Regions from separate parts of the Homo sapiens genome. Here regions 1, 2, 3, 4, 5 and 6 are each linked to region 7. The links are contacts of gene promoters, found by promoter capture Hi-C in blood cells and fetal thymus (Javierre and others, 2016). All regions are on one chromosome and are shown on one strand. Each heading gives the region's core, a stretch centred on a gene start or on the middle of the fragment in contact. The rest is flanking DNA. Distances are from core to core; before and after follow the strand shown.

Region 1 (4,023 bases), core at 713-3,212, 1.2 Mb before region 7:
TTTTCCTTAGTGTTTGTTTTTCTTAAACAAGTTCAAACTCTTATCATATTGCTCCCCTCCCTTTGAAAATATGTACTCTGCAGATGCCTGAAATAACACACTCTCAGCAAATTGCAGCATTGGAAAAGTGAAGGTTATTTCATTCAGTCTAAACTCAATGGAAATTTTGTGGCTTAACAAGGAAATACCAAATACTTTATAAACTCCTTTAGAGCAGTAACCATGTCATATGACTCTGGTATCTCCTACCTACTAGGCTCATTGTCTACCTTCTCTGATGTCGTAATTTTAATAAGTAACTTGAATTGTTAACAATTTACTCTTGTCTTTTTCTTGGACTCAGAAATGTTATTTTATTATTATGTCTCTGCATCTTTCATGTGAGGTCCTTTGCAAACAGTTTTCTCCTAACTTGTTTTCATTGTGCAGATCATGTTGCAGGGTTTTCACATAACAGCTGAAAGGAATTAATAGGAGTTAAAGAAGCTTGCTTCAATTACAAGTAATTAATTTAGGCTTCACTTATCTCAAGGAATATCTGAATATACAAATTTACACATAAATCCTGGGAGTGTCAAATTATGCAACCTAGAGAAAGTAAGCTCTGCAGCTTTTTGGGCGTTGATTGCTATAGTCAGGGGTGTGTGTGTGGTTTTTGAATGAAATAGCAAAACCACTGCCAGTATTATCTACTTCACCTGGTTTTGAATAATTCCAGGAAGCTAGAAACTGAAAACCAGTCTTGTATAGAGTTAGAAAGATTGTAAATGCAGAAGAGGAAGAAAAAAACAAAACTAAACCATTTATCTATCCTCTTTGAACCCTTATAAGAGTTCACAATATTCCTCGTTTCAAATACTTGAAGTCTTCTCTGGGCAATGATTAATTTTTAAATAATTGTTTTTAATGTAAGACATAAAACATACGCACTGCAGATTTAAAGCATACTTGGAAGTAACAAGGAGAAACATAAAAATCGTTGATTCCACAGCATTTAATATATTGGTAACCTTCAATTTTTTTCTAGGCACGTTTTTATAAAATGAGCCAATACTATACAAACGTTTTTGTAACTTTTTTTAATTTGTACTATTTTGTGAGTACGTGAAAAAGAAATTTGTAAAGAGTAAACGATTACAGCATGTTGTGGTATTACACACTGTTGAAGGGCGCCATCTGTGGCGTGGTGGCTGCGCTTTGGTGGGAAGAGGTTCTCTTGGGGTTCCCGTTTTTCTCCCAGCTCTGGGTGGGCAATACTGACCACTCTCCGACCTAAAGGGGCTTCTCCGTTTGCCTTTGACGACCTGAGCTTAGGAGAATGGAGACACGTGGGAGTTCAGAGGAGGGCGTTCAGGGTGACTGCGAACACGAGCTGCCGGAGCTGTCCACATCTCCCCTAGGCAGGGCCCACTGGCCCCAGCCCGGGAAGGGAGCAAGGGCGGGAGGGCAGTTGGCAGTGGCACGGTCTGGGTCCAAATCTTTAGCCCCCCCCACCCCGGCTGGCGCCATTCTCGGGCGGTAAAGTGAGATAAAAGCAGGGCAAGGTTCTGCAACTCCAAATCAGGGAGGCGCAGCTCCTACACCAACGCCTTTCCGGGGCTCCGGGTGTGTTTGTTCCAACTGTTTAAACTGTTTCAAAGCGTCCGAACTCCAGCGACCTTCGCAAACAACTCTTTATCTCGCGGGCGAGAGCGCTGCCCTTATTTGCGGGGGAGGGCAAACTGAACGCCGGCACCGGGGAGCTAACGGAGACCTCCTCTAGGTCCCCCGCCTGCTGGGACCCCAGCTGGCAGTCCCTTCCCGCCCCCGGACCGCGAGCTTCTTGCGTCAGCCCCGGCGCGGGTGGGGGATTTTCGGAAGCTCAGCCCGCGCGGCCGGCGGGGGAAGGAAGGGCCCGGACTCTTGCCCCGCCCTTGTGGGGCGGGAGGCGGAGCGGGGCAGGGGCCCGCCGGCGTGTAGCCGATTACCGAGTGCCGGGGAGCCCGGAGGAGCCGCCGACGCAGCCGCCACCGCCGCCGCCGCCGCCACCAGAGCCGCCCTGTCCGCGCCGCGCCTCGGCAGCCGGAACAGGGCCGCCGTCGGGGAGCCCCAACACACGGTCCACAGCTCATCATGATGGACTTGGAGCTGCCGCCGCCGGGACTCCCGTCCCAGCAGGTGCTGCCTCGGCCCTCTGGGCCCTGCGGTGGTGCCGGGACGGGGGCGGGGGAGCTAGGGAACCGCGGCCCGGGAGGGACAGCCGCAACCGGCTTCCCCCACGTCTGGCCAGAGCCAGGACCGCGGCGCTGGGTAGAGCCGCCGCGCTTGCGCCGGGGCAGGGCGGGGAGGGGCAGCGGGGACGCGGCCGGGTGATCCGACCGACCACGAGCCCGAGGGCGAACGGGTGGGAAGTTGCGGGAAGGTCTGGGGACTGAGCCCGCTCGCGTGGGCCTTGGGGGAGAATCCAGCCGCGTCCCCGGGCCCGAGAGCTGGGACTCCGGAGCCCCTAAGTTTGAGCGGCCCGGTGGGCGGCGGGGCAAGAGGGGGCGGACGCTGGCCGTCTGAGCCGGCGCGGCCCGGCCCTTCCGGGGCTGCGCGGCTCCCCCGCCTCGGTGCCGGCAAAAATGTGCCTAGTCACGGGGCCGCTCTCGGGGGAACTGAGGTCGCCTTCGGGCTGGGACCCGGAGCCCCTTCGCCGCGCCCCAAGACCTCCTTGAGTGCGGGCTGCGACGCGCTCACCCCGCTGGGCCGTCTGTGGGCGCGGCTTTGCGAAGTCATCCATCTCTCGGATCACTCTCTGGCAGCCTTGAGCTCTCTTGAAAGCCCAGCCCCGGGACGAGGGAGGAGCGCCTTAAGTGCCCAGCGGGCTCAGAAGCCCCGACGTGTGGCGGCTGAGCCGGGCCCCGCGCACTTTCTCGGCCGGGGAGGGGTTCGGGCTCGGGCACCCGGAGTTGGCCCCTCGTAACGCCGCGGGAAAGTGCGGGCGAGGGCAGTGGACTCTGAGGCCGGAGTCGGCGGCACCCGGGGCTTCTAGTTCGGACGCGGTGCCCCCTGGTGGCGCTCACCGCGCGCGTGGCCTTGGCTTCCGTGACAGCGCTCGGTTGGCCGTCACAGCAGCCCTCGGTTGGCCCTTTCCTGCTTTATAGCGTGCAAACCTCGCCGCGCCAGGGCCAAGGGACAGGTTGGAGCTGTTGATCTGTTGCGCAATTGCTATTTTCCCCAGAGCGGCTTTGTCTTTGGATTTAGCGTTTCAGAATTGCAATTCCAAAATGTGTAAGACGGGATATTCTCTTCTGTGCTGTCAAGGGTAAGAGTTGCGAGTGTAGATTAGAATTTCTGTTGCTTTTAGTCTGTTAGTAATTTTTTGCTTTCAGCTATTATTTCTCCCCTGAGTACTTTATATATGTTTCCTTTTCAGTTGAGAATTTGCCTCAATTTCTTAACATGTTCCCCCTCTTCTGCAGGGGCAGAGAGTGGAACGCTTGCGTTTCAAAACACTTGCTAATTTCTGTGAATTGTTATAAAAGTGAAAAGAAGTTTCTGCTCATCCTTTGTAGAAACTTTAAAAGTAGATATTTATATTTCTAACTTCTTTTGTAAATGAATTTTAGGAAAAAAATTGGAATTCAAGGAAATGTGTACTTGATGTACAGTAAATACGTTTATGCTGTTAAATGTAAAGTTTTCGGTTAATTCCAAAGATCTATTGTAAAGTTTTAAGTTATGGACAATGTATTAATTGTGCTTTTTTCCCCCTTTAAAGTTGTTTGTCTTGAACTTTTCCCCAGTCTTCATTGGGATTGTATTCTTCTGGTTCCAACTAGTGAAGAATTAAATTGTACCTTCCGATTTATTTAATAGCTGCTGTTCAAGAGTTATCTATAGGAATGCTTGTTTGACTGAAGGATATATGATAAAAATGAACTTTAGTTTTTCTGATTTCCGGAATTGTCTACAGCCCTCTATTATTTTTGAATTTTTCTTTCTTTGCTGTGTAATATAACATTCCTTATACAAAAATGCGTGAAACATATGTACCGCATT
Region 2 (3,994 bases), core at 1,227-3,726, 1.1 Mb after region 7:
TGTGTGTGTACGTGGGTGTGCGAGTAGAAAGGGGAGAGGAAAAGGATCTTCACTTGAGTTTAAGCAGGGTATTTCACTAGGATTCAGTTGTATTTGGCCAAACTAGTGAGTGGAAAGCTGGTCTAGTAACCAAAGGCCGGCTGTATGATGGGAGGGTAAATCTGAGTGCAGGGCAGCTCCTTTCTCTCTGTCTCACTCCCAGGACAACCCCTCAAGGGATGGAGAGAGCTACTAGCAAGCTGAGCTGCAGCACCAAAACCTTGATGCTCTAACAGAGCTTAACAAAGAGGAGAGAAAGGCATTGTTTCTCTTTTAGCATGATGGGACACATAGTTCTGAGTAGAAGGGCATGTTAATAAAAACTCTTTGAGACAAAATGCAACTTCCCAAACTCTATGCAGAATGGCTAAGGACAAAATACTCTCGTTATTTTGCTTCTAATACTAAACAGATTTTTCTTTTGAAATTCAAACCATGCAACCTCTAAATTGATGCGGGATGTGGGTAGGGAAGGTGGTCGGTGAGAACACCAGAAATCTAAGATTTTCCCATTGGTTCTGCTACTAAATAGGTGAACACATTTGGGAAAATCTTTTTACGGGGAACTCAATTTTTTTACCTATAAATCATGGGAGTTTTGGTCTTTTCCTATTCAAAATTCAATGGTTCTATTCTGAAGGAAAATATTTTCCTTTAAATTATAAAGGCAAAAACTTTCTGAGATTACAAAAAACACTTCCAGGGGCTCACCTAAGGTCCCTGAATAGCCCATAATCCCCTTGAAATTATGTGAAAAATTTCCGGTGAATGTGTGTATGTATGCAAGCACTTTTCTAAGAGGAGGGACAGTATTTTCATTAGAGCCTCAAAAGGAAATTTGGTCCAAAAATGTTGAAGACCACTAGTTGAAACAGTAAATGGAGTCTTCGGTTTCTGATTTATTTGGCTGCAGAGCAGATTAGCAGCAATCTTTATATGGTTATAAAATCTATCCCACAAAGCTTTCTTGAGTTTCTCATTTATTTTCATGAGCTGTGTGTTTGTAATTTTTTATGAGCAGAAAGGTTGTTCAAAATCAAGAGTCCATTTTCATGAAAGATTTTAAATTCTGGGGATTTTAAAGATGTATTTTGATTAGTGGCTAAAGAGAGCCATTTTACATCACAAAATTCCAAACATATAGCATCTTAAACACTTGCCCATTCATGTTGAATCATTTTAATATTTCTTTCTTCCTGAGTTAACTGACTTGAAACAAAAGGCTTGGCTCCTCCTTCCAACCTGCTTTTCTTCTGATGCTTAAGTCTGCTTTGAAATAATGATGGTGAATTAACTGTGGTTCCATTGGAAGTACTGTAGTAATCTCCCACTTTATCAGGATTCGATCTCTAAGATACATTAAATACAAGATATTTCTATAATATTCTTAAAGAATTATTTGAAAATGGGAGAGAAGACACTAGGGAACCTGAGGAACTAAGAGGAAAGACGCCTGTAGAAAGAAAGGAGAACCAAAGAGAAGATCTACATGATCAGATACCAAAATAGTATCAAATCCCTAAGCAGAGAAACAAGAAAAAAGAAGGAATTTCTTAAACAGGGAACACATATAGCAACTAGAGAAGAATGACTTTTTGAATACATTAAACGACAACGACGAAAAACATATAACCCAGCTTTTCAAGAACATCTTTTGGCTGACAATCTCAAGGCGTTGTATGGCTCCTCATGGCAGAGACAGAGGTGAGGAGACAACATCACAGAAAGGAGGACGTTGCCAGTGATTATCAGATAAATACAAGAAGCTCAGGGGAACAATCTTTTGTGGCAAATAAGTGCCAGTCAGTGACACATGCTGATTTTTTTTTCCTTGAGACAATATCAAAGAGGTATAATGTAAAGGGAAGAAAATCAGGTGTAAGCATTGGTCTTTTAACAAATTATCTTAGGTAATCTCAGATGCTTTTTAAGCGACTCCTTTTCCTAATGTGTGTCAATTTCATCAGAACTACTAGCAGCTCCTAAGTCCAAACGGAGAGGAATGCAGCTTTCAGTGCCTCTGTTCCTACCAGAGCCCTGCAGCTTCAGGTCACCGGCTCCAGCCACAGTGAGCCTGGAGGGCGCCAGGAGAAGAAATATGTTCTCACACGCACCAGGTCCCCAGATGACCCTGCCTGGGCGCTGCGTTCACTCAGCATCCTCCTGTGACTCTTCCTCTTTCGAGTAACAGCGTTTTTCTCCTCTCTGCGCCTCCTCAAATTCCATTCAAGAAAAAACCTGGGCTTTCAGCTAAAACGCACACCGGCCCCGCTCCATCCCGCTCCGGGCGGCCGCCTCCAGGGGGGCGCTGGTGGCTCCTCGCAGCCGCGGGAATGAGGGCGCACCCTCTTACCCCCGCGCGCGCCCGTTGCCATGGGAACGCACTCGACCGGGAAGCCCGAGGGAGAGGCGGGAGGCAGCGGCGCGGCCGAGCTCGTGGGAGACGCTATCGCAAGATGGCGTCTGCGAGGCCGCGGGATGCGGAGTGAGCGCGCCCCGCCGGGGGCTGTGCGAGGCTGCTGCTGCTCTCCCCGTCGCCGCCGCCGCCGCCGCCAGTGCGGCGCCGCCTCTCCGCCAGCCACTGCGCCGCGGCCAAGCCTCCTGCCTCGCAGGTACCTCCTCCCGCGCGCACGCTCCGCGCCTGATGGCAGCGACAAGTGCCGGCTCGCGGAGAGCTAGCGGGGCTCCCTGGGCCCGGTGCGCCCGACAATAACGCGTGAATAACTTTTTCTTGCAGCGGTCCCCCGCGTCCCGGCCTGCAGCCTCCCCGGGCGCCGGCGCCCCCAGCACGCCCCATCGGGCACCCCACTCTCTCCGAGGTGTGGGTGCGGCGGGCTGATGAGGTGATCCCTAGCCCGCCTGGGAGGAGCGCCTGGACTCGCGGGCGGCGGCGAGCGCCTTTACAATGGCCCTGACCCTGTTTGGTAAGTGCAGCCGTCTCCCCGCGCCGCCGCAGGTGGGCCGCGTCCCGGGGCTCGGGGGCGGGGGCCTGGGGGGCCTGGGCGCCCGGGGAGGGGGCGCGGCGCGTGGGGTCGGGGCGGGCCGGGGCCGCAGAGTTGGGGCGCCCGGGGCGCCGGCTTGCTCCCTCGCGCCTCTCCCATTGTTTCCTCTCCCGGCAGGGCCGATGGGCGTGTGCTCCCCTGGCCAATTCTCGGCTGGGAGGCTCAGAGGTCCTGGGTGTTTTGCAAACGCACAAAGATTCTCTAAGATGCCAACTTGGGAGTGAAGTTAACTGGTTGTTTTCAAACCTGCCTTTCCCGTCGGTAAATAAATCCTTGGAAAGTTTATTTATTTTGAACGAGGTATCTGTGAGTCCCCAGCCTCCTTGGAATTGCCAAATGCATGTGTTGCTTCCTGTTGGACTATTGGGGAATTTTTTTTTTGGACTCAGTATATTCCGTTGGAAATAAGTATGATTTGTGAACTGAATATGGGTTAAAATTGAAAATGTTTGCACTAACGAATGAGAGCAGACAGAATAAAGTTGGTTACCAGAAGATAACTGTAATCTCAGGAGACTGAGTATTCATTAAGAATGAAATGTTATTTTTGTGGTGTAATTACTGCAGCACTGTTGCTTTTGGTGGTTAAGACTTCAAGCTGTTTTTTTCTCAGTCTGCAATGACAATGGGTTGGGAAAAAGGACTGAAAAGATACATTCTTTCCTTTTACAAAACGACTATGGTACATACGTACCTGACTTTAAGAAAACTCAATATGTGAACATTAGACGTTCAAAGTATTCAGCTTTTTTGAAGAAGCAAAGTACAATGATATGTAATTGATAGCTACGAGAACAGCCTAAGTAAGTTATTCACAATATCAAGTTTCCAGTTCAGTTTTAATTATGTCATTTGATCAAACACGTTAGAGGTGTTACATACCTCAAATGCTTTTTGAGGTAAATACTTCCCAGTGAATTAAGCTGCTAGAATCAAAGTGTTACTTTTATTTA
Region 3 (3,969 bases), core at 366-2,865, 1.3 Mb before region 7:
CAAACTATTAGTAATGCAAACATCCAAAATTTACTCAGACAATCTTTACTTTGGAACATCTTTGCACTAACAAACACAAACCCAAAACTGGGTTAAATGACCAGGTGGTATAGTTCCCAGTTAAGTTTCTTATAACGCTGTATTATAATTTTACCTACTAAGCTATTCCTTCCTTAAGAGTAAATACCGTATTTTTAAATTTCTGTATTGCTGGTACAGTGTGTATTTTGTAAAGACTCATGTATGTTGAATTAATTCATCAGAAGCAAGTATAGCTTAGGAACTTGGCCATGAAGTCAATTTGATGTGCTTTCAAATTCTAACCTGTCACACAGCATATCTGCTAAGACTCCAGCAGACTTAATTTATTCATCTGTAAAATGGGAGAAAACCGCACATACCTCATAGCTTGGGAAGAAACAAAGGATTTAGCACACTTTGGCACACTTAAAAGTACACTTTAAACATTAGCTACTTATTTTTTTCACTCTCGGTTTATCCATTTATCCACGGTGACAAAGCCACACGTCAGAAAGTAGCTTCTCCTAATAGCCTTCATCAGAGATTGAGGAGATCGAGACCATCCTGGCTAACACGGTGAAACCCTGTCTCTACTAAAAATACAAAAAAAAAAAAAAAGATTTCTCCAAAAACATCGAAAGTCAAGATCTCTTACAAACATCCCTCATCGGTTAGACTCTTGTCTTTTAGCTTCTGGTTACACAGAGCTCAGTAGCTATACCACCACACCTTAAACCACTAGCTAGTGTTTGCAGTTTATGGCTTCTTACCATTCATCGGTTTCCTCCCTCAAAGTCAATACATCTTGATCCTAAGCAAGTGGAACTTACCCCACAGAAACCAGTCAGCACCTTTTTCCAGGGCACCACCAGTTTCCCCCACAGCAGGCTTTCGCGAATGAGAGAGATTCCTATGATCTATCATCTAGTACAAATTTATATCTCCTCGGAGAAAAATAGAACCTCTGCTACCCATTCCAAGACCTCAGCACCAAAAGTATTAATTCAAGATAAAAAATGAATTCCTGGCACTAAAAGCTCAGGAAAAAGGAATCCTTTAAACCCTTCTCCAACGAGAGTTCTTCAAGCCTGTTACCCTCACATAGTGACCAAAATCCACCATCCCATCCCGCCCCCTTCCTGACAGAATCCAGGGTCTAGTCCACTCTCTCGAAAGAGAGGTGGGTCCCTACTTTCAGGGACCGGGATGCCTTCCGCCCACCCGTGTCACTTCCCTTCCCACCTCGCCTGTGCCCTCCTGCAGCACAGGCCCGGCCTGGTCCCTCGACGCTAACTCCTTCCACATACCGCTACTCACCGCTTCTTTGGGATGGTGCCCGACTCCTGCGCGGCGGGAGTGGCCGTGGGCGCTGCCGTGGCCGCCGACGCGGCTCTCCGCGCTTTGCACTCATTGGTACTCAGAGCCTCCCGGGGCCGGCCCAGCAGATGGCCAGAGAGAACCCGCAGCCTCCGCCCGGCGCGGTCCGGGTCCGGGTCCCGGTCCCGGTCCGCTGCAGACCCGTAGCTCGCGCCCGCGCCCAAGCCAGTCCCACCCGCTGCAGCCGCCGCCTCCGCCATGGCTACCGCCTTGTGCTGCCGCCCGGAACCGCTGGGCGCGGGTGAAAGGTCACTCAGAGCGGCGCCCGGCGCGACCATTCGCTGCGGCGCATCCCGGCAGCCACCGCGGCGACTTGGCGGCGGGTGCCATGCGTCTGGAGCTTCACATTCTCTGCCCCCCACCCACCGCGCCGGCGCTCCCTTGTCACGCCTCGGGAAGCGCGCACCTGCCAAGCAGGTGAGTTCGAGCTGACTCCCGGTTGGCCCAGCCCGGTCCAGCTGGACCGAGAGCCAAACCACGTCCGCCCTCGAGGTGTCCTAGAACCCTGGGTGGTGTCCTCGGGTGTGGCCTGGGGGCTTTCGAGGGCAGATGCCTTGGAGCAGGAGAAATGGGCAGTGCTACTGGACCTGATGGATCCAGCGGCATCCTTTTCCTGAAAGAGATTCTAATGTTCCACCTGTGCTCTTCCTCCCTGCGGGGTCACCAAAGTAACTCAAAGCTGACCATCATTGCCTCTAACCATTAGAGCAAATAGCTCTATCATTTTCTTATTTCTCACCACCTATTTCGTGCCTGGCACTGTGTTTAATGCTAGATCACAAGTAAGTACAGAAACTGAGTTGCAACTTAAGTTCTCATTTCATTCATTACTGGATCCTAACCCCTTCCTAACTTTAATAGAGATAAAGTTTCTTATTGCTACAGACAAAAATTACCCAAGAGCTGTGAAGACATCTCAGTTATTTACAGATTGAATTCATTTCTGGAAGATAGCACGTGAAAAGTGCTCCTCACCTGTTTCAGCCGGTGTCTTGCATAAGAATTAGCTTAGACAAAAACTCACATACACTGGCCATTGTCATTCTCCATCCTGTCACCACTTTCACATCATGCTTTCCTAACAAGAAAAATATTGGCAGAGGAATCTGAAGAACACCACATCCATGGGACTAGAGACTAACAATTGCTCTCTTGGGTGTTGCCAGCTTCTAAAATTGAGATTATGCCTTTAGAGTGAACTTCCAAAGAGGCCCAGACTGGTTAAAAACTCTCAATTAAGGGCTAAGCAAATTGCTGTTGGAGGGCCAGCTCTAGTCTGTGGCCTGTTTTTACACAGCCCTCATGCTAATGGTTTTTGTATTTGAGAAGGGTTGTTAAAAGAAAACAAGAAATTTTTTAAAAGAATATGCAACAGAGACCTTATGTGGTCCCAGAAGCCCCAAAATATGTATTACCTGGCCTTTACAGGAGGTCCGAATGTCTTCTGAAATTTATATACGAAGAGATACCAAACCATTGAAAACAGTCCAAATGTCTAGCAACAGAGAAATGGTTAGTCAATATGTTAAAATACTTTTGCAGCTATTAAAATAATTTAGTACAGTTGTAGAAACAAGAAAGAATTAGGAATTTGTTAAATATAAAAAATGGCCATAACCTAGGCATCTTATACGTATCTATTTAATCAATCTTTGCAGTAACACAATGACACAGTTTTATTATCCTTATTTTATAGATGAAGGCTCAAGGAGAGTAAGAAGCTTTTCTTAAATAGCTATATTTTATCTCAAATATCATATACTTCATGTTATTGTCCTTATTCCACCATTAGAGTTTGGGGCCATTAACATTTTACGTTAAAATTACTTACGTAGGCTTGGGGTTTTTGTTTTTTATTTTATAGATTCTAAAATTGAACTTTCTAAAATAAATTTTCACTTTAATTATAAACTATACTCCTGGTTCTTAAGGATTGAGTTCTGGGAAGAATTTCAGAGATTGCCACCACAGCTATCACGACCTCATTCATGAGGTGCAAGAACATGAAACACATATAGCACTTTCCTAGGTATTTATGACTGAAAAAAGAGAATCTTTAGTTGATCTTGTAAAATTAAATATCAAAGCCTGCAAGCCACTAGTTTCTGGCTTTTGCATACTTTGTTGCCTACCCTCACAACAAAGAAGTTGCACCTGATTGACATTTTCAGTATTCAACTGATGACCAGAAAAGTGGCTATATGCTCCTACATGTTTGATAACAGAAGAAAAATCCTAGCTTCCTTTCCTTTACTTGATTTTGTTGTCAATTAGAGGAATTGTCTCTTATTTTAAAATTTTAAAACCCACTTTGCCTTCCAGTGTCATGTACATAATTCTAATGGTGTTCTTTTTGTCTTGCACAATCTGAAGAAAGTCACACTCATCTCCTCTGACCTGATAAAGCAGTCTCCAAAACAGATAGATGGAGGTGGCTCAATCCAATAATTAATGAGCCAAGAATTATTCCTGTATACTATCCCCTCAGTTCATCTAGGCATTACCTCCATTTCCTCATGTTTTACTTCCTCCTGTATCTTTAGAATCCAATCTCAGATGTCACTGATGAAG
Region 4 (4,054 bases), core at 851-3,350, 1.1 Mb before region 7:
CACTAAACTGTTGGAGAAGCAGTGTTGCATCTATCCCATTTCAACTCTTCTCAGTCTACAACCCAACATGCATTTAATTTTTTTGTTTGTTTTGTTTTTGAGACTGAGTCTCGCTCTGTCGCCCAGGCTAGAGTGCAGTGGCGCGATCTCGGCTCACTGCAACCTCCGCCTCCCGGGTTCACGCCATTTTCCTGCCTCAGCCTCCCGAGTAGCTGGGACTACGGGCGCCCGCCACCGCGCCCAGCTAACTTTTTGTATTTTTAGTAGAGACGGGGTTTCACCGTGTTAGCCAGAATGGTCTCGATCTCCTGACCTCGTGATCCGCCCGCCTCGGCCTCCCAAAGTGCTAGAATTACAGGCGTGAGCCACAGCGCCCGGCCCATACATTTAAACTCAAAACTGTGATGAAGAACAATCTAAAAGTTCTGAATGTCAAACTTACAGAAACTCACTGCTTTCAAGCAAATTAATTTAAAACAGGCATTCCTAAGCCAAACCAGCATTTCCCAAAAAAACTGAGGAAAAAAAAAAGCCGATCAAATAGCTTTCTATAACCCATGTTTGTTATATGCTGCAAAAATCTGCAATTTACAACTCAATTTTAAGAGTCACAACTAACTGGCAAGTTGGACTTACATTAGGAATGGTATGTATTGTCTGACTATAAGAACGGAGTACAGCAAAACAAAAATTGAGATTTTTAAGAATTAAGATGTCTTGAAATTGTTTTATACTTTAGTCAAGACTTTTTAACACATTGCATGAACTGTCATTTAATGCATGCATTAAGGTTTCCTTCACCCGAAGTTCTTAAATAAGGGGCTCACATTTACATTCTAATGTCTTCCTGTGTCTCCTAGAGGTAGAGATGTTAAACCGTTTAATGTGAAGAGATTGTCACATGCTAGAAAAAAACGTTAATAGCCTAAAGCATTAATTCATGTAATCTCATCTTTTCAAGTCTTGGATAAATGTATTCGATTGACAATAACGAAATCGACAAAAATATTTAGGATCCACATTAAATGTACTGCAAAAACGTGAAAATTTCAACTCTGGTTGCAGTCCTCTAAATAAAATTCCAGGAAACTACAACCAGAGCCGACTCAAAGAATGGGAAAACATGAAGATAAAAAACATTTCTAAATTCTTCCTTAACATACTATACTCAAATTCTTCTCCACCCACCCTCCTCAGCGGCCGGAGCCGGGAAGGAGCTGGCTGGGTTGTTTTTCACATCTACACTCAAATTCTCAAAAATTAAGTCCTTCGCCCACATGGCGGTTTAAGAAGTGTAATGTAAGTACTTTAGCAAAAATATATCAGGAAGTATTTTAAAGCAGCAAAGTTTTTAACAATCTCGTATTTCCAACAGGATGCTGCGAAAAAAAGAAAAGGCCAATTATCGACTTCTCGCGGAGAGGACCCGTAAAAGGCCTAGAAAAGCGTCGGCAGAACTTCAGCGAAAGCACTACCTCCCCATGCTTCGAGGCCATTTGCGGCTTTTTCTGCCGGGCCGCCTCCGCCCTCTTCCCTCCAATCCCAGGCTCGCTTTCCCGGCGGCAGAGCGAGGCGGCGGCCATTGCGGGCCAATGCGCCATTTCGTAACGCGGCGGCGGATCAATGTCAATGTGGCCGCCGCCCGCTTGCTCGCTCGCCCGGATGTGCCTGCTCGTCCCCTCCCCTCCCCCACCACCTCCTCCCAACCGCTCCCGCCGGGGCCCGCCATGCCGCCCTCGGCCTCGCTTCGGAGGCCGCGCAGCCGGCAGGCCGGCTTCCCTCCCGAGGCCTCCCCGACCAAGCCGCGCCTCCAAGGGGCCGCCTGTGCAGCCGAAGGTGAAGGCGAGGCGGGCGAGGGGCCCCAAGGAGGTCTCCAACTCTCGCTCCCCTCCCCCTCCCACAGCCTGTCTCAACGCAAGAGCGCGGGACGGCCGACCCGGTCCACCCGGCCTCCCCGCTCCCACCGAACCAGGCCCCCAACGCCGGCCATTCCCCACCAACCCCCCGCTCTCCCCCTAATACCTCCTCCCCCCGGCGGCGACGGCGACGGCCGGAGTCGGGCTGGGGGCGACCGGGCGGCGGTTTTACCTCCATTTTGAGACCGGACTCGCCTCTTCCAACTCGAGTTCAATATGGGACCGAGAGGAAGAGGCGGGGCCAGTCGTCACGTGACGCGTTTTCCGCGCGCCGCCAGTCTGTTGGGGGAGGAGCGAATTGGGAAGGGGGCGGAGCCAAGCGGGCGCGAAGAGGGACTGGACCAGCGGGTTGGCGGGCGGAGGGCGGAGGCGCGGCGTGCCGCGGGAGCGCGCGCGCCTCGCCAGCTTTCAGGGGAAGAGGGCCTTTGCCGCCGTTCGCGTCAGGGCGAGTTCCGGGACGTCAGTGCGGTCTCCGCCAATGGTGAGCGTCCACGTAGAGGGAACGCCTTGTGATCGCGCGTCACCAGAGAGAAAGGCCTTTCCCTTTCTTCTCGCGCTTGTCCCTCATTCCCCACGCAGGCCTCTAGTTCTCCATTTCAGAATTCATTCTATTCCTGTGCCCGAAATAAAACCCACGTTTTTCTTGCTTGTAATTTAAAGGTTGCAAGAAAAACTCCTCGGCCCCTCGGACCATCTTTCCTGTTTCCAAATGCCGGGGACCAGTGTCTGTGACTGCGCCGCCTGCCTGAGGGCATGTACTGAAAAGCCCTGCGACTCCAACATGTGGGACTCACAAGCACCTTGGACAGGCCTCAAAACGCGGCTGACATACAGAATTTTTACCATTAACGACCTGAGGCAGGACTGGTGGAGGTCAGTTCATTAGTTACTGATCTCAAGAAACAAGTCAGGACTATTTTCTAATGTGCTTCTTTCAAGTTAGTGTGGAAAGAGCTGATGCATCTGTTGTAGCTGACGGAATTTAAGGAACTGAATAATTGACAAGATTTCCAGAAAAGCAGGGTCGCCAGATAATGCTACCTGTTTGCGAATGATTGTTACCGTAATGCTCTAGAGAGCTAATCCTTTCTCGGCCTAGTCAGATGATTTTAAATCATTTGATTTTACAGAGCTTTAGTTTCAGTTTTTTAAATGAAAATGGGGATGGGATTAGGTCATCTTCTAACACCCACGACAGCCATAAATTGATAATCTATGGATCCATATTTAAAGTTACTGATAAAAATAACCACAATTGACCAGCCTCCCTTCCCTGTTAGGAAATGCTTTATATTTTAATTTAGCAACCCATGTGACCAACCCTTTTAGAATTGAACTGGCTCTCCCTAGGAAAGGTTAGAAATCTAATCAGTTATAGTAAGTTTCTGTTAACAAATGGGGAGTGGTCGACTTGGAGTTTGGAAAAGGGGAGCGTAAAGTCTAAAAGTTTGTTAATTTATCTAGCCGTTGCTCCAGGAGGACCTGTGTTATAGTTTGGAAACATTTACAAAGGGTATTTTTGTGGGGCAGAAAACAGTTAGCAGTCCTTAATGTAATTTGGTTGAAATAACCGTTCAAACCAGACTCCTCCTGTTGCTTTGATTCCTTTTTCGCAAACTTTCTTATGTTCTACGTATCCAGGTGCTCCTGATGGCCAGCAATAGACTTGAGACATTGGAAGAATGTATAGCCTTAGCGTCTATTTAGTGTTAAGATTTTGTAAGTCTAATTACTGTGAAATAGTCCTGGTAACTTTATCGATTCTGGATACAAAGAAAAATGCAAAGTGAAAGACCTTTGGAAATTGCTATTCACACCAGAGTACTCTATGAGACATTACATAGGTGATCAAGAAGAGTGATCACCTGGCTGCACTTTAGGGTATGTTTGTCCAGGTTTTTCTAATAAGTTAATTCTAATCAATAACTTTTGTTCTAATTAGTAACTTTTGTATAAATGTTAATGTTAAATCGCGAAACAATGTGGGATGGGATACTAAGTTCTCTCCAGGAACATGAAATGTCAGCCCATTTATTCACATCTTTTTGTCCTCCCTATTGTATTGGTCCAGATTTGTTGTTCATCCTGACTGTATGCTGTTTTTAGACATTAGTTATTTTTTATGCTTTTGTCTAAAC
Region 5 (3,587 bases), core at 878-3,377, 1.4 Mb before region 7:
GAGTACGTGAAGTCAGCTGCTTTATGGTATAGCATTCAGATGCCTACTGAAGTTCCTTTTTAGGTATAACAGGTGACCATTCCCAACTAATCACTTTCTAATACTTGCTCACAGTTACGACTTAGGCCAAGAAGTTCAAATTTCCACTGGCCAACCCAAGGTGGCTGGTTGCTTTAACAGGAAAATAACAATATAAAAAAAGCAAGACACTAATATTCCCCTATAACTGGGCCCATACATGATAGATAGAGTTAATTCATCAGTGACTATTACCTACTGAACTTAGCTTTGGAATTTCATGATTCAGCTGCTTCTTATCTAGCTGTGTCATCTCAGGCAAGTTGCCTAATCTTTCTGATTCACATGTTCTTCATCAGTAATATGCAGAATACAGGGTGGTTATTATGATTAGAAATAATATATATAGGTGGTCTAATAGAATGTGATGCAATATGGTTGGTGTTGGCTCCAAAATTTATATGTAGAAAAGATTTATGAACAGCAATACTGTTGAAGAGGCAGTAAGGTACCTGCATTGAAGTATTTAATTATATAGCAAAGACATGCTCTGACTTGGACTGTTTATCATGGGTGGTAGTGAGGCCAATGGACATCATGGAAGACTACAAAAGACAATGCTCTGTCCCAGGCCACCATATGATAGATGTTAATGAATTACAACTATTATTGTTACCTTGAAAACTACACTATTTACAAGTACCTCACTGGGATAAGCCAAATTCATATTTTGCTATCTTGTCTATGTCCCTAATTCTTGATTGAAAAATTGTATTTATTCTCCCTTAAAGTCTATGGTCTCCAGGTCAGTTTATCTAGGGGTATTTTTTAAATTGGTGATTAAATATAATTTTATGGAATAATTAAGCCCCTAGTTTTTCACAGCCCCATCATGGCCACTAATAAACTGAAAAAAAATTATACAAAAATAGCCCCAGGATAATAACATGGAATCTACAGCATCTATTCCAAATATATAACAAAGAATGAAAGAAAACCCAGAATGATATCTTGTACAGTCTAGCAAACCTGCATAGAAATCTTCAAACTAAGAATCTGGAAAAAAAATTAAAGTGTAGGCAATCTTTTCTTATTTTAACAGAAGAAAATCCATATTTATCAGTTCAATATCCAAAATCCCTAGAAGGCTGAAAAGTACAAACTGAGCATGTGTGTCTCTCACACACCCACACATCACTGGCTGACTAATTTAGTAGTTAAGAGAGAAGAGTAAAAATGCATAGGGAAAGGAGCACATTTTAATGTCTTGGATTTTCCCCTCTTGGAAAAAACTGAAGTCATGCATTTCTCCAACGTTTCTACCTAGTAGTGAAAGTTGGAACTCCAGCGCAATGGGGATGGCCAAGGGTAAACGCCAATATATACTCAGTAATATTTGTTGTTACGGGAAAAAAGAGCGGGAGATACTTGGACCTAAAACCGAAACTCTCCCAGTACCAATCAAGATTCACAGTCCTTTTTCCTCATTAACCTCTGGAAACCACCAAATTAAGGATTCCTGCTCGCCGCTCTATTCCGTTCTTACAAACTGTGCCCTCGGGGTAGTGCAAAAAAGAACGTGCTCTAATTCCAGGGTAATTCCAAGAGATAACTCGCCTTTTGCCATCCCGGTTCTTTTACTGAAACTAAACCAAAAGCCAGCATTATTATCGACCACACCGTGTACCAGGCTCAAAATCGCCAGGAACATGGGGCCGGAAACCTTCCTCCGCCGCGCCAGAGACCACGGTGCCATAACAGACACAGTGAGCGCCCCTCATCTTTAAGAGGCAGGGAAGGAGAGTTACCCTGCACCCCCACGGGCCGCCGGTTCGGTAGGTACAGCCGGGACTACGTCTCCCAGCATGCAGCGCGGCTACGACCCGCGCCGCGGAACCACTGGAACGGTGCATGCCGGGACGAGTAGATTCAGTCTCTGAACGGCCCGGAGTAGTCTTTCCCCTCCTGAATGCCGCCACTCCGCAGTCCAGAGTATTTGAAGATCAAGCTGAAATTGAGAGACTGACGAGAGTGGTCCCTTTTTGTTCCTAACAGATTTCTTGCGACAAGGAAACCGGCAGTCTTCCGCTTCCGGTTGCTCTGTTGCCATAGTAACCGCACCCATAACAGCCGTGGTGGTTATGGCTGGCCTGAGCGGCGCGCAGATCCCCGACGGGGAGTTCACCGCGGTCGTGTACCGCCTCATCCGCAATGCACGCTACGCCGAGGCGGTGCAGCTGCTGGGCGGAGAACTGCAGCGGAGCCCTAGGAGCCGCGCCGGCCTGTCGCTGCTAGGCTACTGCTACTACCGCCTGCAGGAGTTCGCGCTGGCGGCCGAGTGCTATGAGCAGCTGGGCCAGCTGCACCCGGAACTGGAGCAGTACCGCCTGTACCAGGCCCAGGCCCTGTACAAGGCCTGCCTTTATGCGGAGGCCACCCGGGTCGCCTTCCTTCTCCTGGATAACCCCGCCTACCACAGCCGGGTCCTCCGCCTGCAAGCTGCTATCAAGTACAGCGAGGGCGATCTGCCAGGGTCCAGGAGCCTGGTAGAGCAGCTGCCGAGTAGGGAAGGGGGAGAGGAAAGTGGGGGCGAGAATGAGACCGATGGCCAGATCAACCTGGGTTGTTTGCTCTACAAGGAGGGACAGTATGAAGCTGCATGCTCCAAGTTTTTTGCCGCCCTGCAGGCCTCGGGCTACCAGCCTGACCTTTCCTACAACCTGGCTTTGGCCTATTACAGCAGCCGACAGTATGCTTCAGCACTGAAGCATATCGCTGAGATTATTGAGCGTGGCATCCGCCAGCACCCTGAGCTAGGTGTGGGCATGACCACTGAGGGCATTGATGTTCGCAGTGTTGGCAACACCTTAGTCCTCCATCAGACTGCTCTGGTGGAAGCCTTCAACCTTAAGGCAGCTATAGAATACCAACTGAGAAACTATGAGGCAGCTCAAGAAGCCCTCACTGACATGCCACCCAGGGCAGAGGAAGAGTTGGACCCTGTGACCCTACACAACCAGGCACTAATGAACATGGATGCCAGGCCTACAGAAGGGTTTGAAAAGCTACAGTTTTTGCTCCAACAGAATCCCTTTCCTCCAGAGACTTTTGGCAACCTGTTGCTGCTCTACTGTAAATATGAGTATTTTGACCTGGCAGCAGATGTCCTGGCAGAAAATGCCCATTTGATTTATAAGTTCCTCACACCCTATCTCTATGACTTCTTGGACGCTGTGATCACTTGCCAGACAGCTCCTGAAGAGGCTTTCATTAAGCTTGATGGGCTAGCAGGGATGCTGACTGAGGTCCTCCGGAAACTTACCATACAAGTACAGGAAGCAAGACACAATAGAGATGATGAAGCTATCAAAAAGGCAGTGAATGAATATGATGAAACCATGGAGAAATACATTCCTGTGTTGATGGCTCAGGCAAAAATCTACTGGAATCTTGAAAATTATCCAATGGTGGAAAAGATCTTCCGCAAATCTGTGGAATTCTGTAACGACCATGATGTGTGGAAGTTGAATGTGGCTCATGTTCTGTTCATGCAGGAAAACAAATACAAA
Region 6 (3,708 bases), core at 246-2,745, 1.7 Mb after region 7:
AATATAATAAATGTTTCCTTAAAAAGAAAAGAAAATGACTAAATAAAAACTTCAGACTGAAACTCTTAAGGGTTTTCCTCTTCTCCTCAGTGACGAGAAGTCTGATGTCTTGATGGCTTCTGTTATTTTCTTTCTGTATTTCAACTCTTATGTCCTGGATCTCCTTCTATTTGTGTTTTATAGTTAGTTCTATCACTATATAACTTTGGCAGACTATTTAATCTCTCTCTTACCTATGCCTTCTGCCTCATCAGAAAAATAAGACACTATTTGATGGGCTGTTATGAGAACTTAATAAGGCAACACGTAAAGTGTTTTGCACAGTGCATAGAACATAGTAGATACTCACATGAAAGCTGTTATTGTTATTATTTGGTAGGAGAGAAAATTTCTCATAAAGGCTTATTCGTTTTTTGTTTTTTTTTTTTGATGGAGTTTAACTCTTGTTGCCCGGGCTGGAGTGCAATGGAGCAGTCTTGGCTCACTGCAACCTCCGCCTCCCGCGTTCAAGTGATTCTCCTGCCTCAACCTCCCGAGTAGCTGGGATTACAGGCGCGTGCCACCACACCCGGCTAATTTTTCGTGTTTTTAGTAGAGACGGGGTTTCACCATGTTGGCCAGGCTGGTCTTGAACTCCTGACCTCAGGTGATCCACCCACCTTGGCCTCCCAAAGTGCTGGGATTACAGGCGTGAGCTACCGCGCCCGGCCAAGGTTTATTCTTAACATTACCCTGATAGAGAACTTGGTTGGTGGATCACCTGCTGCAGTAGCAGCCACGTCCACTCAAAAACCTGGAGTCCCAAGGGCCATCAAGCTGCAATAGTAACCTGAGCTGCCTAACTGGGGTCGTAGGGAAAGCTAAGGAAACTTGCCCCCTGGTTAGAATTGCACCTAGCCCACTGAGGAGGTGAAGCCTTGAGAGATTTTACCAACTCCTAACGCGTATTCGTCATTCAATAAGTATTTATTGAACGTCTTTCGGCGCCAGTACCGTACAGCTGGGTACAAAATAGACAGGGCCTCCGTTCTTGCAGAGCTGTCTGTCATTCTATTTCACGCGCTCTTAGTTCAGCCGGCGCTTTCAGAAACATCATATTGTTGGATTCTCGCAAGCATACTACGGTTAGGGCCGGAATTATTATCTTCATAACATAGATGAGAAAAACAGTGCAGAAAAGCTTTTGCAGCTCGAGTCAGAGTCCACAGAAAGTAATGGGCTCGAGCTTCAAGCACCTTTGGTCGAAGGGCCGCCGCGGTCCACCCCGCACCCCGGCCCTGGGCGCTCAAACCGCAGCCGGTGCAGCTGGGCTCCGGAGCCCCTCGGTCAAGCAGTGCCGCGCCACAGTTGGGTCTTCCGGGTTTCTGTCTCAACTATGCACGCCCCTCCCCCGTGCGCGCCCCTCACCTGGCCTCCCAGCTACCCGAAGTGACAGGTGGACGGAGGGAGGAGTGGCCAGTGGAGGCATCAGTTGCCGGAAGCTGTCACCTTTGATCTCGGAAGTTCCCCCTTGCTGCTGGAAACGCAGTTCCGGTTAGGCGGCTGAGTTTGTTTACGTTGCTAACAGATCTAGCCCCTGCTTTCCCTAGTTCCAGTTCCAAGATGGGGAAATCCTTCGCCAACTTCATGTGCAAGAAAGACTTTCATCCTGCCTCCAAATCCAATATCAAAAAAGTGAGTAAACAGACCCGGGGAGGGATTAGGCCCACAGGGACCGCCTTCCCAGAGGCTGCTGGAAGTGAAAGTGATGGTGTCTCTGAGATCCCTAGGACAGCCTCCGCTTCTCTAGGCCTAAAGCCCTGGTGGTCTCGCCTTTCTCTGCTGAGCAGCTCGCTGACGCAGCGGGTCCTCAGCGTTTATTCTGCAACAGCGAGGAGACCGGTGGCCTAGAGAATCTTTGTCGGCCAGAATGCAAATCCATAATATGCGAAGACTAATGTCAAAATTCCTCAGTACTTCCTTCAGCTGATTCTGGTTTTTTGTCTTTTCGGATCCCAGGGATCACGGCTTCTGAACTCTACTTTTCTGTACAAAGAAGCCTCCCCGTTTACTTAAGATAGATCTTTAAAAAAATTACCTAATAATCTAGTGTCTTTTTGATGACTAAACTCGTTGAAGTTTAGTGTTTTACATAATTACAGGTCTACCAGTTGTAATACTTTGGTGAATATCATAGTAATGAAAAGCAAAAGAGTGAAGTAGAAAGAATCAGCTTTGGAGTCAAACCTGGATTCTAGTTATTCGAGCAGTCACTTTTAGCCTTAAGACCTTGCACAAAATATTTGTAATATCTGACCCTCAGTCTTCTAATCTGTAAATTAAGGATGATTGACTTAATTGTGAGGATTAAGTGAAATAGTGAAGATAAAGGATTTGAAACAACGTAGGCATCTATCACTGTGTCCACTACAGAGAGGAGGTGCTCAATAAAATGTTGATTGCCCCTACATAGAAACTTGTGAAAATAACTAAGCTTTTATTTGTTTTTAGAACGAGTTGAGGTGATGAGATACTGCTATATACTCTCACTTCTAGACCAGTGATTCTCAACTTTTTTTTCACTGTTACCTTCCTAAGGAGTCTTATTAAACATTTTTTCTTAATAACTCCCCCATGAAATTTTAATAACACAGATACACCTTGAAAGCTCTTTGGTAATCATCCAGCCCCATCTCCTCATTTTATAAATGAGGAAACAAATTTGCCAAGAGTTACACAGCTAGTTAAATGTTGTACCAGAACTAGGATCTGGAACACCTGATTAACCCAGTGATTTTTTTTCCACTGCACCAGTTTGTGTTTGTGTGGTTGCAACTGTGGGAGGGAGAGGTTTCTTGTATTTGGTTGGCTCAATAACTTTTGACACCAAACACAGACATTTCCTTTCTCTGCATACTTAGGGGGTCAGCTGTTACTATTTTTACAAGAATGAAGAGATTAGATGGAATTCAGGTGCTTGCTTATTTGCTGTTTATATTTAGAGACAAATATACCTGAGAAATCATAATTTTTTACTGGAACTTTTGACATTTCGCTTTATAAATTTCAATGTATCAGCTTTCTTACAAGAAAAAAGAAATCCACAGAGAATAACTTTTGCAAGTCCGCTATGAGAAATTCAGTAAAGCAGTTATAGGCTTAGAACCTACATTCTTCTCATCTGTGTAAAGTGTTATGTAAAATGTACCAAATATTGTTGGCCTCTTTGATCTGTTTTATACTTTTCCCAGGATAGAGGAGAAGAATGAAATGTTTTTGATTAGCAGACCTTTCTAGATAGTTAACACTTTATGGGGAGAGGGGGTGACCTCTAGCATTCTTTATTAACTAAGGATAAAGGAACTATATTAAATGAAGATAAATAGAAAAATTTATTAGGGTAGGAGGAAACTTTTGGAGGTGATGGATATGTTTATAGTGTAGATTGTGATGATGGTTTCACAGGGATATACTTGTCACCAAACTCAGGTTGTATACATTAAATATGTACAGCTTTTTATATGTCATACTCCAGTAAAGTTTTTTTTTTTTTTTAATAGAAGTGGAAGAAACAAAGGAGTTTGATCAAAGAGTGCAAAAGAGTTCCACCATGAAAATTTTAAGGGCCAGGTATGGTGGCTCATACCTATAATTCCAGCACTTTGAGAGGCCAGGAATTCAAGACCAGCATAGGCAACAAAGTGAGACCCCATCTATATTTAAAAAGAA
Region 7 (3,625 bases), core at 103-2,602:
GGGCAAGGCAGGCTCTAAACTGGAACCTGAGGGAACAGAGACAAGAGCAGGCCCGCCGGGGCATCTGCTTGACTCCAGCGGCGCGCGTCAGCTAGCGGCTTGGATAAAGTCCAGTGCAAGGATCAAACTCCCCCCACTTCCCCACCCCCCGCCTCTCTCCCTTAAAAGCAGGAGGCTCCGGTGTATGCACTCACACTGGCTTGAAATCTCCCTCCCTCCCTCCCTCCATGGTATCTAGCAACCCCCTGCCCAAAACTGGGAAAAGGCTCTCGACAGCTATTAATGTCCTCCTCGAAGTCTACCTTAAGCCCACCTAAATTGGTTTCCTACCATAAACACACTTTACAACGGCCCAGGAAATCTTATAGGATGTATAAACCTCTTCGAATGCTTATAAAGTAGCACATAAAAAGGCGCAAGCAGAGGGAGGCCTCCGCCCCCCCCCCCTCCCCCGCGGCCCCCGGGCCCACCGCTTGCCCAGTACCCGGTGCCTACCTGCGCTGCTGCTCTTCTCGGCCCCCGCCTCTCCCGGGGGGCCCTCGCCGTCGCCACCGCTGCCTTCTGCTGCCCCCTTGGGCTCCGAGCCAGGGGTCGCCTTGGTGCAGGGACTGCCCCCGCCGCCACCAGCCCCGGTCCTGGGGTCGCCCTTGTCGGCTGCGCCCTCGGGCTGTGGCGGCGCGGGTGGCGGCGGGGGCTGCGGCCCGGCGAACGGGGGCCCGGGCGCTGCCTCGTAGAACTGGTCGAAGCCCTGTGGCAAGATGCCATTGCGGCCCACCGCGCTGTAGAAGTTGGAGGCGGCGCCCGCGGGGCCGTGCGGCGGCCCCGGCGCAGCGCACACCGGCTCAGGCGCCTTGAAGAGCACGTCCGGCCGGCGGCCCGCGGGCGGGAGAAGCTCGCGTTGCATGGCCGCCTCCTCGGCCGCCGCGGCCGCCGCAGCCGCCGCCGCCGCCGCCGCGTAGTAGGGAGCGTAGCCCCCCGCGCCGCCGCCGCCCCCGCCGGGGCCGCCCCCGCTGCTGCCGCCCCCCGCGCTGCCGCCGCCGCCGCCGCCGCGGTACGGCCACTTGGCGCGCTCCAGGCCGTAGTCGCGGAAGGCCACTTCGCGCACGGGCTGGACGTGCGGAGCCAGGTTGGAAGAGTAGGGGAAAGTCATCTGGCAGGACGACGGTTGGGAAAGGAACGAAGGCTTGCTAGCGAAGTCAGACGGGGCCACATAGTAGGCGCAGCCCGGCAGGTACATGCTGGCTGCGCTCTGGCCGCACTCGTCAAAGTCGTTCATGACTCCGCGGCGTGCGCGCCAGCGAGCCTCTGGCCGCTCCCCGCGCAGCCAACCTGAGCCATCGATTGCACAAGAGGCTTGGGCCAGGATCAACTAAGCAAAAATCCCCACCGGGCGCTGACGTGCAATTCATCTTGATTGATTCTGGTGGTAATTATGTCACGTGACGCCATGAAGAGAAATGTCCTTATATCTATATCAACGCTCGCCAACACGCCCCGGGACGGCTCCTGGCGCCGAGACGCGCGCGCTGGGGGCGGATCGGCTGCCCTCTGCCGCCAGCTCTCCCCGGGCGCTCCCTGACCAGGCTGCGCCTCAGGCCGGTCACCTGCGCGCCGCTGGCCGCTGTCACCGCTGGGCGCATCTGCCACCGCCCGAACGGGCCGCCCGCCCGCGTCCGCCCTCCCGCGCCGCTTTAAGTACGCGGACCGAGGCCGGCGGGGAGGAGGAAGGAGGGGGAAGAGGGGGAGGAAGGGGGAAGGGAGAGAAGCAGCGAGCAGAGGGGGGGAAGCCCCGGCTCCAGGCTCCCTAGAAGCTAGGAACTAGGTGTGAGGGTGTGAGGTTCCGAACCCCACCCCCCTTACTGCAGCCGCTCCCTCCCCCGCGACTCTGCCACCCTCTGCAGCTCACCCGCCTGGGAGCTTGTTGCTTCTTGTTCACCGGGCGGGAGTAATTTCGCCACTCTCCAGGGCGCAGGGAGCCCTGATTTACATATTTTTCTGCCCAGCGCGTTCAGAGTGGAGTGACTTGGCTCTTTCCGGTTCTGACCCCAAGGGTGCGAGTGCTGGCCTCGGAAAAACCCAGGCCATTCACCACCTAGGCACTCACCCAGGCCGGGGCCTTCGTGCCCACCCGGCTCTCTTCCCTTCTCTCTGGTTTCCCTCTCTGTTCTTGTCTCTCTTTCTCCTTGCCTCGTTTCTCTTCAGTCTTCTCCCTTCTCTCTCCTGTCTTCACTTCTCTCCTTCCTCTTCTTTTCCGCTTTCCTTCTTCCTTCCTCTTGCTTTCCTGTCTCCCTTCTCCTCTCTCTCTCTGTCCTCTCATCCTCTCCCCTCCTTTCCTCTAAGCTGTGTGTCACTGTCTCTGTCTCTCTCCCCGTTGCCTCTCTGCCTTCTCCTTCAGCACTGAAGCCAGGAGGGGGCTCAGCCCGTGGTCCCCAGCCTCCCTAGAATCTGGGGAGTCTGGTGAACAAAAGGATCTGGAGTCCTACTCTTAGGGTGCTTGGCTTCCCGCTGGCTCCCCACAAGAGACAACCCCCACACACTCGCACCTTCGTCCTCCTCACCCCTCTGCTTTCAGGCCTAGCCTGGGTGTCCGCCTTATACCTAGACCCTTCACTGCTTCGGAGCCCCGCCAAGGCCTGCGAATCCACGCCGCGTTTCCCCGAGGCTCTTCTGGTACCCTTGGGTCTGCATGGTCACTTCAGCCCCTCCCCCAAGATAGGTTGTCTCTCTAAGGGCTCTCAGCGGAGCCTGACTCCCTCCTGGAGCCCCTCTGTGTCACCTGGCTCTGAGGCAGACTCTTCGTGGGGCACCCCATCCACTCCCCCAAGGCCTCACTCTCCTCCCAGCCTGCCGCGACCCTCTCCTAGCCCATGGGTCCAGGCAAGGCCTGGGATCCCACCTCCGAGTGAGCAGACGCTTTTCAAAGGTAAACCGTCTCTTCCCAAACCCAAATCCCAGAACCGAGGGCAGGAGGCTGCCCCTTTCCCCAAGATTCCTCCGCCCAGGCAATCCCAGCGCTGGGGCCTGGGCCTCAGTCCTATACCCAGGGCAGGCGGCGCTGGCTGTGATGCTGGTTCCCTCCCTGGCCCGGGCTGCTGCAGTGCCGGTGCTGTGCGCTCTGCCCACCGTGCGGACAGACAGAGAAAAGGCGGGTGGTCTGAGCTAATATCTATTTTCTGGCTGATGTACCCCCCCTTCCTCTTTTTCTCCTCCCTCCCTTTCTCCCTTCCTCTCTCCTTCCTCCGCCCCTTCCCATGTCTTCTTCCCTCCCCCAACACTGCGCAAATAGGTCTGTGGCGACTGGAGGGCATCGAGCCTCCCCCAACTAGAACTGCCCATCTTGTGTGCTCCCTCCCCGCAGCTGGCACCCCCGCCCAGATTCCAGCTGACATTCTTCTCCTCAACCCAGACCCCCAGCACACTTATCTGCCTCCCCATCTCCATCCCAGGCCCAAGCCTCTCCCTTTCGGGCTCGTGGTCGACGCCCCTGGATCTCTCTCCTAAAATGGCTCCCTGGACGCTGCACACTGGCCCTGCGGTAGCTCAGGACCCAGGGCAGCTGCGAGGACTTCAACCCGGGTCTTTATGTGTCTGGGGATTCGCAAAATTCTCGCACCTTCTCTCTACT

The links. Contacts are between HindIII fragments. The CHiCAGO score rates a contact against its expected background, and 5 or more counts as called.
Region 1: the fragment with the promoter of NFE2L2 here is called in contact with the fragment with the promoter of HOXD11 in region 7 in 4 of 17 cell types (naive CD8 T cells, total CD4 T cells, M2 macrophages and 1 more); the score reaches 7.8 in naive CD8 T cells.
Region 2: a contact is called between the fragment with the promoter of CHN1 here and the fragment with the promoter of HOXD11 in region 7, in 1 of 17 cell types (endothelial precursors). The highest score is 6.1, in endothelial precursors.
Region 3: a contact is called between the fragment with the promoter of AGPS here and the fragment with the promoter of HOXD11 in region 7, in 5 of 17 cell types (naive CD8 T cells, naive CD4 T cells, non-activated CD4 T cells and 2 more). The highest score is 10.6, in naive CD8 T cells.
Region 4: a contact is called between the fragment with the promoter of HNRNPA3 here and the fragment with the promoter of HOXD11 in region 7, in 1 of 17 cell types (naive CD4 T cells). The highest score is 5.3, in naive CD4 T cells.
Region 5: the fragment with the promoter of IFT70B here is called in contact with the fragment with the promoter of HOXD11 in region 7 in 1 of 17 cell types (naive CD8 T cells); the score reaches 5.4 in naive CD8 T cells.
Region 6: the fragment with the promoter of SCRN3 here is called in contact with the fragment with the promoter of HOXD11 in region 7 in 1 of 17 cell types (total B cells); the score reaches 8.2 in total B cells.

The regions. Positions count from the first base shown.
Region 1 is chr2:177,262,666-177,266,688 of GRCh38, reverse strand. NFE2L2 (NFE2 like bZIP transcription factor 2) reads left to right here and starts at 1,962. Exons shown (of 5, transcript NM_006164.5): 1 at 1,962-2,157. The coding sequence starts at 2,113. RefSeq lists silencers at 1,819-2,688, 2,949-3,108 and an enhancer at 2,789-3,988. The HindIII fragment of the contact is 5,708 bases long and covers 489-4,023 here.
Region 2 is chr2:175,003,863-175,007,856 of GRCh38, reverse strand. CHN1 (chimerin 1) reads left to right here and starts at 2,476. Exons shown (of 13, transcript NM_001822.7): 1 at 2,476-2,963. The coding sequence starts at 2,945. RefSeq lists a silencer at 2,716-2,775 and an enhancer at 2,760-3,306. The HindIII fragment of the contact is 4,598 bases long and covers 1,004-3,994 here.
Region 3 is chr2:177,390,419-177,394,387 of GRCh38, reverse strand. AGPS (alkylglycerone phosphate synthase) reads right to left here and starts at 1,615. Exons shown (of 20, transcript NM_003659.4): 1 at 1,339-1,615. The coding sequence starts at 1,598. It overlaps LOC100130691 (Putative uncharacterized protein FLJ44553), which reads left to right and starts at 1,697. Exons shown (of 9, transcript NR_026966.1): 1 at 1,697-1,815. RefSeq lists silencers at 1-187, 1,396-1,615. The HindIII fragment of the contact is 4,249 bases long and covers 1-3,121 here.
Region 4 is chr2:177,210,840-177,214,893 of GRCh38, reverse strand. HNRNPA3 (heterogeneous nuclear ribonucleoprotein A3) reads right to left here and starts at 2,100. Exons shown (of 11, transcript NM_194247.4): 1 at 2,023-2,100. The coding sequence starts at 2,094. MIR4444-1 (microRNA 4444-1) reads right to left here and starts at 2,168; the gene lies at 2,095-2,168. LOC105373759 (a long non-coding RNA gene) reads left to right here and starts at 2,483. Exons shown (of 1, transcript NR_157853.1): 1 at 2,483-3,499. RefSeq lists silencers at 198-267, 1,673-2,462 and an enhancer at 1,462-2,133. The HindIII fragment of the contact is 9,993 bases long and covers 1-4,054 here.
Region 5 is chr2:177,551,336-177,554,922 of GRCh38, reverse strand. It overlaps IFT70B (intraflagellar transport 70B), which reads left to right and starts at 2,127. Exons shown (of 1, transcript NM_152517.3): 1 at 2,127-3,587. The coding sequence starts at 2,160. RefSeq lists enhancers at 1,861-2,150, 1,519-2,322, 2,323-3,127. The HindIII fragment of the contact is 6,507 bases long and covers 1-3,295 here.
Region 6 is chr2:174,393,517-174,397,224 of GRCh38, reverse strand. It overlaps SCRN3 (secernin 3), which reads right to left and starts at 1,495. Exons shown (of 8, transcript NM_024583.5): 1 at 1,408-1,495. It overlaps CIRSR (corepressor of RBPJ and splicing regulator), which reads left to right and starts at 1,513. Exons shown (of 10, transcript NM_004882.4): 1 at 1,513-1,674. The coding sequence starts at 1,603. RefSeq lists enhancers at 567-1,067, 1,565-1,614. The HindIII fragment of the contact is 1,293 bases long and covers 1,183-2,475 here.
Region 7 is chr2:176,105,007-176,108,631 of GRCh38, reverse strand. It overlaps HOXD11 (homeobox D11), which reads right to left and starts at 1,352. Exons shown (of 2, transcript NM_021192.3): 1 at 496-1,352. The coding sequence starts at 1,276. RefSeq lists an enhancer at 3,496-3,625. The HindIII fragment of the contact is 7,005 bases long and covers 1-3,625 here.